3 separate regions of the Homo sapiens genome follow, and all the other regions are linked to region 2. Evidence: promoter capture Hi-C in 16 types of primary human blood cells and fetal thymus (Javierre and others, 2016). All regions are on one chromosome and are shown on one strand. Each heading gives the region's core, a stretch centred on a gene start or on the middle of the fragment in contact. The rest is flanking DNA. Distances are from core to core; before and after follow the strand shown.

What was found. The method cuts DNA at HindIII sites, captures the fragments that hold promoters and counts their contacts. A CHiCAGO score of 5 or more calls a contact.
Region 1: a contact is called between a fragment that was not itself captured here and the fragment with the promoter of NSD3 in region 2, in 10 of 17 cell types (erythroblasts, non-activated CD4 T cells, megakaryocytes and 7 more). The highest score is 9.8, in erythroblasts.
Region 3: a fragment that was not itself captured here is called in contact with the fragment with the promoter of NSD3 in region 2 in 4 of 17 cell types (endothelial precursors, M2 macrophages, M1 macrophages and 1 more); the score reaches 10.6 in endothelial precursors.

What each region holds. Positions count from the first base shown.
Region 1 is chr8:38,078,261-38,082,434 of GRCh38, reverse strand. No RefSeq gene overlaps it. Among named protein-coding and RNA genes, the nearest start is that of ASH2L, 25 kb to the left of the region's middle. RefSeq lists a silencer at 4,010-4,174. The HindIII fragment of the contact is 2,370 bases long and covers 785-3,154 here.
Region 2 is chr8:38,379,625-38,383,667 of GRCh38, reverse strand. NSD3 (nuclear receptor binding SET domain protein 3) reads left to right here and starts at 1,397. Exons shown (of 24, transcript NM_023034.2): 1 at 1,397-1,869. It also overlaps a transcript of LETM2 not described here. RefSeq lists silencers at 491-840, 1,031-1,180, 1,211-1,610 and enhancers at 1,259-2,049, 2,340-2,874. The HindIII fragment of the contact is 5,398 bases long and covers 1-4,004 here.
Region 3 is chr8:38,691,088-38,695,606 of GRCh38, reverse strand. No RefSeq gene overlaps it. Among named protein-coding and RNA genes, the nearest start is that of TACC1, 94 kb to the left of the region's middle. The HindIII fragment of the contact is 3,065 bases long and covers 677-3,741 here.

The sequences.
Region 1 (4,174 bases), core at 720-3,219, 300 kb after region 2:
TCCCCCAGGAAGAATACGTGCCTACACAGGAAGAGATAAACGACTGTGGTGCTCTTTATCAATCTACATTTATGGCGAGCACCAAAGGGGGGGGGATGAAGAAGGAATTCATGAATTTTACAAGTACAATCAAAGACCACCAAGAAATTTTTACTTTTTCCTTCAAAAGCTAAATGTAGTTTAGAACCTGCACCCCACGTAGTCTAAGTTAGAGAACAATACTAACTGCCTGTTTTTCCTTCTGTGCTCAGCAAGCCTTATCTGTACTCACCAGTTTCACATTCCTTGAGGCTCAGCGAGTTCCTGCTTCACCTCCCTAGCGCAGCTGCAAAGTTACAAGGTTGATAAGCGTATGTTACAGAAACAGAGTTTCCCAAGGATGTAGAACATGTAGTATACATAAATGTAAAAGACTGATCAACTGCCTTTGTTCTCACTTCTGTAAGTACGCTTCCTGCACCAGGTAGCTCTCAGCCACTGACTGCTTAAAAGGTGGCTGCTTTCTTTGCCGAGGCTCAGACTTTCCTGGATGCTAGTCCTACTGAGCCAGGTGATCACCTTAATAAAGGCTTTCCTGAACTCTGTTCGTCTTTCCCGTCTCTGATTGTCCCGCAACAGCAGAAAGGAAGACATTTATTTGCAGTGCACCAAGCAGGAAGGACCAGGTAGCTCGCTCTCAAATCCTGACTTCCCCAGTAGCTTGCAGGTAAGGGTTCTTAAAGGCAGGGGTAAAATTCGGGAAAGCAGAAGTTACAGGCAAAGTCATAAGTCAGTACATGAAGCTTACACATTGGTTTTGGCTTAAAAGAGTCGGGTATCTTGAAGGCGAGGAGGGTTCGGGGGAATGTAGGGGTGTTACAAGCAACAGGTAAATTCAAAGATTTTCTGATTTGCAATTGTTTAAGGGAGAAAAATTTGGGGTCAGAAGAAAAGAATGTTAGCTCAATGTTGTGACTGTGACTTGCTCTAGGCCCCTCAGGAAGAACTTTAGAATAAAGGACAGCTGTCAGAGTTCAGTCCTCAGTTTCTCCTTATCTGAGGTCTGTGTGCCAGCAGATCCATTGGGTGGGGGTCCAGTCTCTGAAAAACAGTTCAGGGACACGCGCTAAGATGTTATCTTCAGTTTACATAGGGAACCAAACATTTCCTGGCTCTAGCTTCCTTTGCTGTTGTTTTAGGCTACTATTACATTCTTGCTTATCACGTTGCTCGTTTATTTATCAAGGCTAGCTAGGTGCTTGGAATTTTCTTTGAGGGAACTCAAGATTTTCCTTTATTTCCACGCTTGGGAGGGACTTGGCAGGCCTCTAACAAGTAGGTGGGGGAGTGGAGAGGGAGGGTGCGGTCCCTGCTTTGTCTCTCAGCACTTTGGGAGGCCAAGTTAGGAGGATCACTTGGGCCCATGGGTTGGAGACCAGCCTGGGCAACATAGTGAGACCCCGACTCTACAAAAAATTTAAAAAATTAGCTGGACTGGGCGTGATGGTTCACGCCTGTAATCCCAGCACTTTGGGAGGCCAAGGCAGGTGGATCACTTGAGGTCAGGAGTTCAAGACCAGCCTAGACAACATGGTGAAACCCCGTCTCTGCTAAAAATACAAAAATTAGCCGGTCATGGTGGCGGGCGCCTGTAATCCCAGCTACTCAGGAGGCTGAGGCAGGGGAATTGCTTGAACCCGGGAGGTGGAGGTTGCAGTGAGCTGAGATCACACCACTGCACTCCAGCCTTGGTGACAGAGTGAGACTCTGTCTCAAAAAAAAAAGAAAAAAAATTAGCCGAGTGTGATGGTGCATGCCTGTAGCCTTAGTTATTCAGGAGGCCAAGGCAGGAGGATTGTTTGAGCCCAGGAGGTCAAGGTTGCAGTGAGATGTGTTCACGCCACTCAGCCTCCTAAGTAGCTGGGACTACAGGTGTGTGCCATCGCACTTGGCTAATTTTAAAATTTTTGTAGAGACAGGATTTACTATGTTGCCCAGGTTGGTCTTGAACTCATGGACTCAAGCGATCCTCCTGCCTTGGCCTGCCGAAGTGCTTGGATTACAGTCGTGAGCCACTGCTCCCAGCCTGTACTGACCACAGGGCCTTCAATACCCAAGGGAGAGAACTTGTATGAAAACAAGTTATGTCCCATCCCCGTACCAGGTAAGAAAATAAGTTTTATCTGATGCATGGGAGTCCTTTTAAATTATCAGGCCCAAAGAGGCATTAAAATGAAATAGCAATCACGTCCTACTTTCCCCCACCCCATTTTGAGCTATGTGTTCATCTCTTGAAATTGCTTGCTATTGCTAAAAGTAGCCATAAATTAACCTAACAGTGCTGCAACAGCCACTATAACCCACACCCTATAGCTTAACAATGTATATAGCCAATCAGCAGCTTATGTTATTTTGATGGAAATTCTTGGTAAACAACTCAGGAACTGCCTCTTCTTTCCCTTTAAAAATCCACTTGTGGACCAGCACGGTGGCTCACACCTGTAATCCCAGCACTTTGGGAGGCTGAGGTGGGTGGATCACCTGAGGTCAGGAGTTCAAGACCAGCCTGGCCAACATGGTGAAACCCCATCTTTACCAAAAATTCAAAAATTAGCCAGGTGTTGTGGTGGGCACCTGTAATCTCAGCTACTCGGGAGGTTGAGGCAGGAGAATCGCTTGAACCCAGGAGAAAGAGGTTGCAGTGAGCCGAGATTGAGCCATTGCACTCTAGCCTGGGCGACAAGAGCAAAACTCTGTTTCAAAAAACAAAAAAAAGTCCACTTGTGGCTGGGCATGGTGGCTCACGCTTGTAATCCTAGCACTTTGGGAGGCTGAGACAGGCAGATCACCTGAGGTTGGGAGTTCGAGACCAGCCTGACCAACATGGAGAAATCCTGTCTCTACTAAAAATACAAAATTAGCCAGGCATGGTGGTGCGTGTCTGTAGTCCCAGCTACTCAGGAGGCTGAGGCAGGAGAATTGCTTGAACCTGGGAGGTGGAGGTTGTGGTGAACTGAGATCACGCCATTGCACTCCAGCCTGGGTAACAAGAGCGAAACTCCCTCTCAAAAAATAAATAAATAAATAAATAAATAAATCCACTTGTAACTGCTGCTAATTGGAATGTATATTCAGGAAACTTAAATCTGTGCTCCCATGTTACAATCCTCAAGCTTGGTGCAAATAAACTCTCTACTTATATTAATTTAGCTTCAGTTTATTCCATTTAAATATTAATTTAGCTTCAGTTTTTCCTCCAACACAGCCTTTGTTGAAGGCCTCTAGGCTCTCTCCTAACAAAGAACAGTGGGTCAGATGCCCTGGACTCGACTCCAAGGACTCACTCTCTCCCCCACTACGATGCCCCCATGTTGTTATCATCAATTAAGCAAAACAAAGCTTTCTGTGTTTGTTAAAGTCATGATGAAGATAATTATGCGGTAGTTCATCTCAATGGAGCAGTCATTCAGTCTCTGCTGAAGCTTCTGGGCCTTCATTTCTAGTGTTTATACACTGAGCCAACTAAGCATTCCTGGTTACTTCTACTTCCAGTAACCAGATATCTGAGTCCCATCAAACACAGTAAAAAGAGTTTTCTTCTTATTATTATTAGGAAAAGGTGAGCTCCATAAAAGGTGGGTATATATATTTTGAGATGGAGTCTCACTCTGTCAGCCAGGTTGGAGTGCAGCGGCGCGATCTTGGCTCACTGAAACCTCCGTCTCCAGGGTTCAAGCAATTCTTCTGCCTCAGCCTCTGGAGTAGCTGGGACTACAGGCGTGCACCACCAGGCCTGGCTTTTATTTATTTATTTATTTTTAGACAGAGCCTCGCTCTGTCACCCAGGCCAGGGTGCGGTGGCTTATCTCAACTCATTGCATGCAACCTCTGCCTCCTGGGTTCAAGCCATTCTCCTGCCTCAGCCTCCTGAGTAGCTGGGATTACAGGCACACGCTGCCATGCCCAGCTAATTTTTGTATTTGTAGTAAAGATGGGGTTTCACAGTGTTGTTCAGGCTGGTCTTGAACTACTGACCTCAGGTGATCCACCCTCCTCAGCCTCACAAAGTGCTGGGACTACAGGCGTGAGTCACCGCGCCTGGCTGTGGGTAGAGATTTGTGTCTGTTTTGTTTACTGATGTATCGTAGGCACCTAGAACCATGCCTGGCACATATAAGGCACTCAGTAAATATTT
Region 2 (4,043 bases), core at 148-2,647:
TGAGCCACTGCGCCCAGCCAATACTGATAATTCTCAGTATCTAGTATTAACCGGGTTACGTTTAAAAAAAATAGTTCATAATTAGTGCCCTTTTAAATAACTGATCTGTAGAAATCATTTAATTTCCTTAAGTGATATTTAAAGATAGAGATATCTAATTTCTTGTAATAGTACCAAAGACATCCAGCACTATAACGTCTACAGAGTATGACGTCTAGCGGTAAAATGGCTTTATTCTCAGAACAGAGTATCGGTTTCCTCATTTGCTTGCTGCCTCTGTTTCCTTTTTACGTTCACGTCTCTGTGCTGTAACCTTCCAAATCCTTATCACCAGGCCCCAGGAAATATCACCTGGTCGGCACACTCCTGCAGGGCCAGATCACTGTGCACACACTTAACCTTCCATTGTTTTCCATACGTTTCCTAGGATGCGGGGGGCTAGAGGATGACGGAGAGTTGCCTCCCGGTTCTTCCTCTCGTTCTTATCTTGGGCCCTCTAGGACAAATGTCCCTCACGTCCCTCGATGCGAAGGTCTGGCCGCGAGCAGCCGCGGCCTCCGGCACGTGACGGTCACGGAGCCGTCGCGGTCCCCCGCGGCTGGGGGGCACCCGGGGATGCGGCGGGCGCTGACGTCGTCCTCCCGGTTACCCACAAGCCTCCGGGCCGCAGCAGAGCAGGAAGAGGCGCGCGGGGCCGGCGCCTGCCGGGGAGGTCGAGGCGCTCCCTCGGCGAGCCGGCGCCGCCGGCCGGGTCTCCTACTGCTTGCAACCGGGGGAGGGGGACCATCCGACAGCTCAGCCGGGGCTGAGAGGGAGACGACGCCAAGGCGGTCTTGCATCGCCCCCGGCTTTCCAAATGCAGACCCTACCGGAACCGGAGCCCTTCCCTGACAGCCGTAGGACGGGAGACGGCCGAGGGGTCGCCTGGACTGCCCCGCCCTCGCGCGGTGACCCACCGGGGACCGTGCGAGGGTCGCTTCTAACCCTTAAGAGCTAGAGAGCCGAGTCACCCTGAGGAGCGCCGTATGGCGCTGGTTGCGCGTTGTTCTTTAATCAGCCTCACTGAACGCGCCGATCCCAGTTTTACCTCCCGGGCCCCACCTTTCCACGCCTCCTCCGGCTTCCCGGGGTGTTTTGTGTGTCACTCTCCCACGTACAGTCCCTCCCCGTCCCTCGTTCCTCGGCCCTCTCGCCCGGTCTCCCTAGTCGTCCAGACGCTAGCTGCCGCGGGCGTTCCTGGTTCGCGCTCCCGCCCCCTCCGCCCCGCCGACTCGCCGCTTCCTCCGGAGCCCCAGCGTCCCGAACCAGGGACTGCATTTCCCGGCAGGCGCCGCGGCCCGCGGCCAATGAGGGGCTGAGGATTTGGCGGCGGCGGCGCCCCGAGAGTCGGGGTGGGGGGGCTTTGTGCGCGGCGGCGGCGGGAGAGGCGGCGGCGGCGGCCAGCACGGAGGCGGAGGCCGAGGGGGCTGTGCACAGGTCGCCGCGGAGAGGCGTGCGAATTCCGAGCCGAGCGCCGAGGACCGTGCTACCCAGGCCGGGCTGCCAGCCGCAGGCTCCTCTCTGGCAGCAGCGGCGGCGCGGCGACCCCCGTCCCTCGGCCTCCCCTTCCCATCCCACCTCCCGAGCCTTCCTCTTCCCGCAGCACGCCCGGCCCGGCCCGGCCGTGGCCCTCCTCAGTGCCGGCCGCCATGGCAGAGGCGTCCGGCGCGGGGAAAATCTAGCCCGGGGATTTCATGCGGCCTAGCTCGGTTCCGCCTCCTCCTCGCGCGGCCCCAGCGGCTGCCCGCACCCCAGCCCCACTCCGGGCCTCCGTGTCTCTCCTGTGATCGCACTGACACGGCCGGGGGGTTAGAATGGAACAAACTGAAGGTAAAGTGCGTGTGCGTGTGTGTATGTGTGTGTGTGTGTGTGTGTGTGTGTGCGCGCGCGCGCGTGTGTAGTGCTAGGAAGGGCTGAGGAGGGAACGACGGGGAGGGGGCGACCTAGGGATGGAGCGCCAGACCCCAGGAGGAATGGAAGGGGAAGCGGGTGGCCTGAAAGGGCTCGAGGGGAGTCCTGACGGAGGAGCAGATGGCAAGGTGGGGGGTGTGGAGGGAATTGGGGGGTGGGCCAGGGGAGGTGGGGAGTGGGATGGGAGTCGGAGTGGCGCTGAGCTGGGAATTGGGAAAGTGGGATGGGGGCGGGGATAAGGATGGATCGGGGAGGGGCAGGGAAAGGGGAGAAGAGTTGCATGGAGATTACAGACCTGGGTGGACTGATAAATAGGGAGATTTGGGGATGGAGTGTAGGAACCAGAAGAGTCTGGGAGAAGGGGATAAATTTGCTGGAGAAATGGGGCATTTTATGGGAATGAAGGGAGAAATGAGGAATGGAAGTGAAGGAAAAGGTGGATTAGGAAAGGGGATGAGGCAGGCTGCAATAGGAGAATGGGAAATAGACGCAGGAAACTGGAAGACAGGATTGGGCTAGGGAAGGAAATTAACTGAATGATGACAGGGATGAGAACGATCGACTTAGCGTCAGAGTGGGAGGAAGAGAAGGGGATGGAGGTCGTTAAAGTGTTAGGAAGGGAGGCCTTTTGTTCCTGTATTTGTGTGTATTCTGTGTCTTTCTTTCAAGGCTAGAGAATAGAGAAGCTGGTGGTTATGGGATTGTGATTGTTGTGAAATGGGGAGGTGTGGGTTTTACTGTTTTGAGGGAGAAGGCGATGTGTTTGTGTTATGGAAGGGAGGCAGGGAGAGACATGGCCATAATTTGATGGTTTTGGGGAGGGAGTGAAGATTATTTCGATTTAAAGGGGGCAGGGGCAGCCATGTTTGCTGCCAAGGCACTGCAGTGTAAATAAATTCCTTTTCCTCTCCGACATCAGTATGAATCTGGAAGGGGCCAATTCAGACTGTTAGCCCCCTTTCTTTCTATTCATGAACTCTTTTCCCCTTACGTCTTGGGTCATTTTAAATTATTCATAACCGCCAAAGGAGGTAGTGATGTTTTCCATCACTACCTTTTTGATGCTTTTCTCCCTCTCTTTACCCTCTTCCTTCTGGTTGCAAACAAGGTATGCTAATGAGCTGCAGTGTAAATTTAACCCATTTAATCAATTTAAAACTAGATTTTTACTAGCTGAAGGAATCATTACTACGCTTACATATCAAACATGATCGTGAAGTCTTTTACGTATTGAAAATTCGTTTGTTTCGGAAGCCTCAGAAGCAGTCAACATGTTTTCTGCAATTCTTTAAGTAAACAAGGAAATTGCATCGGTTATTTTACTTGGGCCTGTGCTCTTGGCAAAGCGCTGTGTCCGGGTGAAAGGGGTAGGAAGCTCTGCTTGTGGTAGATTATCGGCTTGCTGTATTTTGAATGTTGAAAAATTAGAAATGTATGTATTTTTAAATAGTATTTCTGATAGCTCTTGCTTATAGGTGATGAGCGTGTTAAGTGATGAGTGTGTTAAGAATAGTATTTTCTTTTTTAAATAAACTCTCTTTTCCCCATCTCTTCTCTTTGCCTTCATGTAGCTGGCTCAATACAATCTCCAGATGCCAGTTCAGCACAGTGCAATGATCTGTGAAGTAGGCATGCAGTTCTTAGAGTCTCATTGAGATGCCAGGGTTTTTTTGTTGTTGTTTTGTTTGTTCGTTTTTTGATTGAAACTTCAGTTGACTCTCAGGAAACTACAGTAACTAATATATTCAACTGTAACTACTTGTACAATTTGAAATAATTACTATTCTAAGGTTTAAATCCTGACAAATTTACAGAACATACATTGGTGTTAAGTAGAGCCTATTTTATTTCATATTGGATTAAATGTGTGTGTGACCTTTTGTTTTTATTATAGCAGTTGGAGTAATCCAAACTTTAACCTATCACATTGATATTGAAACTGTTCTCTAATACCAAGAAGGCCTGTTAACATTGTAATATGGTGGACTCAAACCAGTTGAACTACATTTAACCTACCTAAATGGCAACATCCTCTCAGTTGTTATACAGAAGCTTAGGATATATTCTTGGTTTGTTAGAAAAATGAAATTGAA
Region 3 (4,519 bases), core at 960-3,459, 310 kb before region 2:
TACTGAAGCACTGAAGCGCAGGAGAGAGGTCCAGGCTGCCGAGGAGACCGAAGGAGTCCTGTGTTGTAGATGTCCTAGCTGTTGCCGGTACTGATGGTAGAGCCTCCATCAGCCTGGATCCTTGAGTTACTGATGGAGCAGAATTCCCTCAACACATACATGCCCAACTTGGACTTGCAATGGACATATAGCATATGCAAGAAATAAACTTTTTTTGTTTTCGGCTTTGGGATCCAGGGGTTAATTTCTTATCACAGCACAACCTAGCCTATTCTAATACAAGTATCTTGTAAATGTGAGTCATATAGAGACTGGTGGCAGGTCACCTGTATGACCTGTCACTGGAAGGAGGTCAAGCCTGTCTACTATGAAAGAGGACAAAAGGTAGATTCCTATCAGGGAGGAGCAACAGTCCAAATGACCAAATTCAAGGGCCTGGAACAGTGAAGTCAACCCTGGGATGGCTGGAGGCAGGGCAAATGTTCTGGGTGACACTCAGTCTCTGGAGGTGCTCATCCCAGGCACACCAGACTCCAGACTCAGATCAGCCAAGCAGACCAACCCAACCCCCAGGGAAGGCAAGGATCCCCAACGACCTGTTTATCCTGGACTCATTGGTTCTGATCCTGAATCAGTTGGTGGCATGTTTTTGGGGCCCCAGAAAGTAAAAGAAGCTTCATAGGTCACTTCGGATGTACAGGATGTTGGGCAGTGATGAGAGTTTATTAACTGATCTTTCTTTTCTTTGCATAGACTCTGAGTGCCAATTATCCAAATGGGAGTTAAGACACACTCAGCCTCCCTACCTAGGCTCTTTGCAATGCACTGTAAATGAGAAATGACCAACCCTTATGTGATGGGATACAGTGCTGCTCTATCCATTTGTGAGCCTGAAATTATCCAGCTGCCCTGTCTATAGCTATGGGAGTTTTAGTACACTGGATAGAAGGAACCTAGAAAGAGAATTAGGGAAAACTGTTTTTCTCTTGACATCATTGATGACATGGTTTGCAGTGACTGACAGTATCTATCTTGTGCCCAAAATGAGGTGGCATTCAGCTGATGACAGCAGAATGATGCACATAAGCAAATTCCTCATGGTGCCCAACTGTCTTTTTTTTTTTTTTTTTTTTTTGAGACAAAGTCTCACTTTTGTCCCCCAGGCTGGAGTGCAATGGTGCAATCTCAGCTCACTGCAACCTCCGCCTCCCAGGTTCAAGCGATTCTCCTGCCTCAGCTTCCTGAGTAGCTGGAATTACAGGTGCCTGCCACCATGCCTGGCTAATTTTTGTATTTTTTGTATTTTTAGTATTTTATCTTTTGTATTTTTTGTATTTTTAGTAGAGACGGGGTTTCACCATGTTGGCCAGGCTGGTCTTGAACTCCTGACCTCAGGTGATCCACCCGCCTCAGCCTCCCAAACTGCTGGGATTACAGGCGTAAGCCACCATGGCTGGCCTCCAAGCTGTCTTCTTACTAGAACTGGGAGAAAGAGGAAAGGATGATGGGGGTAAACCTCTCATGAATCCCTGGGCTGGAACTGCAGAAGGATTTATACTTCTGTATAGAATTGTCTTTGCAGAAATCTACTTCTCTGAATTAGCTGAGAATGCAGAACCCAGAGTCTGGCAATAGTGAGATGAAAGAGTTCACTGGGACCAAATTGTGTTTTTCTACTTTGCAGAACTTTAAGCTAAAGTCTTTCAGGGTTCTTAATGTTTTTCTTTCTTTCTCTTTTTCTCTTTCCTTTTTTTTAGAGACAAGATCTTGTTCCACTGCCCAGGCTAGAGTGCAGTGGCATGATTATAGGTCTGTATTAGTTTGACTCATACTGTTATGAAGAAATACCCAAAACTGAGTAATTTTAAAGAAAAAGAGATTTAATGGACTCACAGCTCCACCTGGCTGGAGAGGCCTCACAATCATAGCAGAAGGCAAAGGAGGAGCAAAGGTACGTCTTACATGGTGGCAGGCAAGAGAGCATGTGCGTGTGCAGGGGAACTACCTTTTATAAAACCATTAGATCTCGGGAGACATATTCATTATCATGAGAACAGCATGGGAAAAACCTACCTCTTGATTCAATTACCTCCCACTGGGTTCCTCCCACAATACATGGGGATTATGGTAGCTACAATTCAAGATGAGACTTGAATGTGGACATAGCCAAACCATGTCAAGGTCACAGTCCTGGACTCACACTCCTGGACTCAAGCAATCCTTCCCACTCAGCCTCCTGAGTAGCTTAGACTACAGGCACATGTCATTGCACTCAGCTAATTTTTTTATTTTTAAAATTTTTATAGAGACAGGGTCTTTCTATGTTTTCCAGGGTGGTCTTGAACTTCTGTCCTCAAGTAATCCTGCCTCGGCCTCCCAAAGTAGGTTTTTAATTTTTATTAGGTAATTATTTTCAAAGTCAAAAAGGTACAGTTACCCTTACTGAAAATTTGCCGCTGCAAGAGAAGTAGGATCTTGTTAGAAATTACTTATGTTATTTTGCTTCCTCTATCCAAATCTACTGTGGTAGGCAGGCTAGCTGGGAGACTGAAAACCACAACTTCATTCCCAGATACACTGCTGTAAAATAATTAAGTCAGATGTTAATGTTACAGGACCACCAGGTTCAATTGCCCATTGTGTGGTAACATACCAATACACTGGAACAGCAGGAGTTGCAGCAGAGAAAGAGTTTAACAATTGCAAGGCAGCCAAATGAGGACATGGGAAAAAACCTCAAATCTGCCCCCGCAAGAGGTTTGGGGATGGAGTGTTTAAGGGATCTTGTTTGGTAAAGGACTAAAAAGTATGATCATCACTGATTGAGAAGTGAGGGGTGACATCATGGGACAGGGAGATAAAGAAACTGCATTCCTGTGCTGAGTCAGTTCCTTGATGGGGGTCTTCAGACCAGCTGGAGTCAGCCATTCTGCTGGAATTCAGGATCTGAAAAACACCTCAAGCAAAGCAATTCTTGGGTAAAAAGGTACAGTCGTTAGAGATTCTATCTATGGGAACAATGGGGGAGCACGTGGTCAGTGAGCTACATGACTTCTGGTTACTTAGCAGCTGCAGAGAAATGGGTCAAAGTGCATCAGTTTTTATATCCCAGACAATGCCTAGCTATAATTCTGCCTAAAGCCTGGCTTATAATTCCAGTTAACCCTGTGACAGTGGTTTCATTAATGTGGTGAATCCATTTAAACACAGCTAAATTCAAAATGCATATATATTTTAATATGCTTGTAATGCACATGAAAATGCCTGTACTTTTAGAGTAGGAGGTAGATTTCTGACCCTGTCTTCCCCCATTCTGATTTAATAAAGAATTTGGAGAGGGTGAGTAGTGTCAGTTTAAAATATGTGGCAAGGTTGAGGTGGGAGGAACACTTGAGCCCAGGAGTTCAAGGCTGCTGTGAGTAAGGACCAAACCATTGCATTCCAGCCTGGGTGACAGAGCAAGACCCTATCTCTAATAAAAAAAGAAAGAAAGGAAAAAAAATTCATGTCAAGAACCAAACTAGTGGTTTTCTATCTTTTAAATCCATATTAATAGCACTAAATTGTACTTTAATTGTGATTTCCAAATGTCACCTCAATACTCTGTGAAGTAAAAGATAAAGCCACACATTCTGAAATGTTCTGTAGTTACATTTTATTTTTTAGGCATTCTGAATGTGCTTTATTCCTGATGGTTACTCATATGAGGATTACTGGAAACCGGAAGTGGCAGACAAAGCTTCTTGCTCAGAGCTTTAAGGCCGGATCCAGAACTGGAGCCAGTTCCACTTACTGTGATTGCCACAGGCCAGGGGGAATGGTGCCAAGGACAGGTCTTGGTGTATGGAGCTGTAAGTTGTACCTGATGGCTTGAAAATGTACCCTGATTTCAGATTGGCCCCATGCTGAAGTGTAGAACAATGGTTCCCAAAGGTCAATCTCTATGCATATTCATGGCAAAAGTTGTGAGGCTTGTACCCTTTCTGCAGGCAACAGTTAGAACTTTCAATACCTAAATTGAGCACATAAATGAATATAATACAAAAAATTAAAACTGAACCAAAAAAACATTCAAGTGAGAGAGGAAGCTGAAGTGCAAGAGGTGTCCTCTCATTAGCAGATGAAGGGGTTGTTAAGTTAAAATCTTTGTTCCATTCTGGTCCAAGGTCAAAATAGAGCTACATTCTATAAAGGAATATGAAATGACTAAAGAAAGATATTTTTAATGAGCTCACATAATTCATGGCCTGTCCATGCTGCCTAAAGCACCACTCCTGATTGAAGGGTGCCCTGAACTCTGCTCCCATCTTGCTAGCCCCCCGAGGGCTGAGATTGATGTGTAGAGAGGGAAAGTAAACCCTGAGCTTTGGGAGCTGTTTGGGGTCAAGTCAGAATTTGTTTCTGTCCTGCCTTTCAAAGCTTTGTTTTCTTATGAACCATCCATACTAATGACTCAGCACTACTGAGCCAGGGAGGGCCCGGGAAGAGCCTTCACCTTCAAGGAGGTGCAGTTCATGAT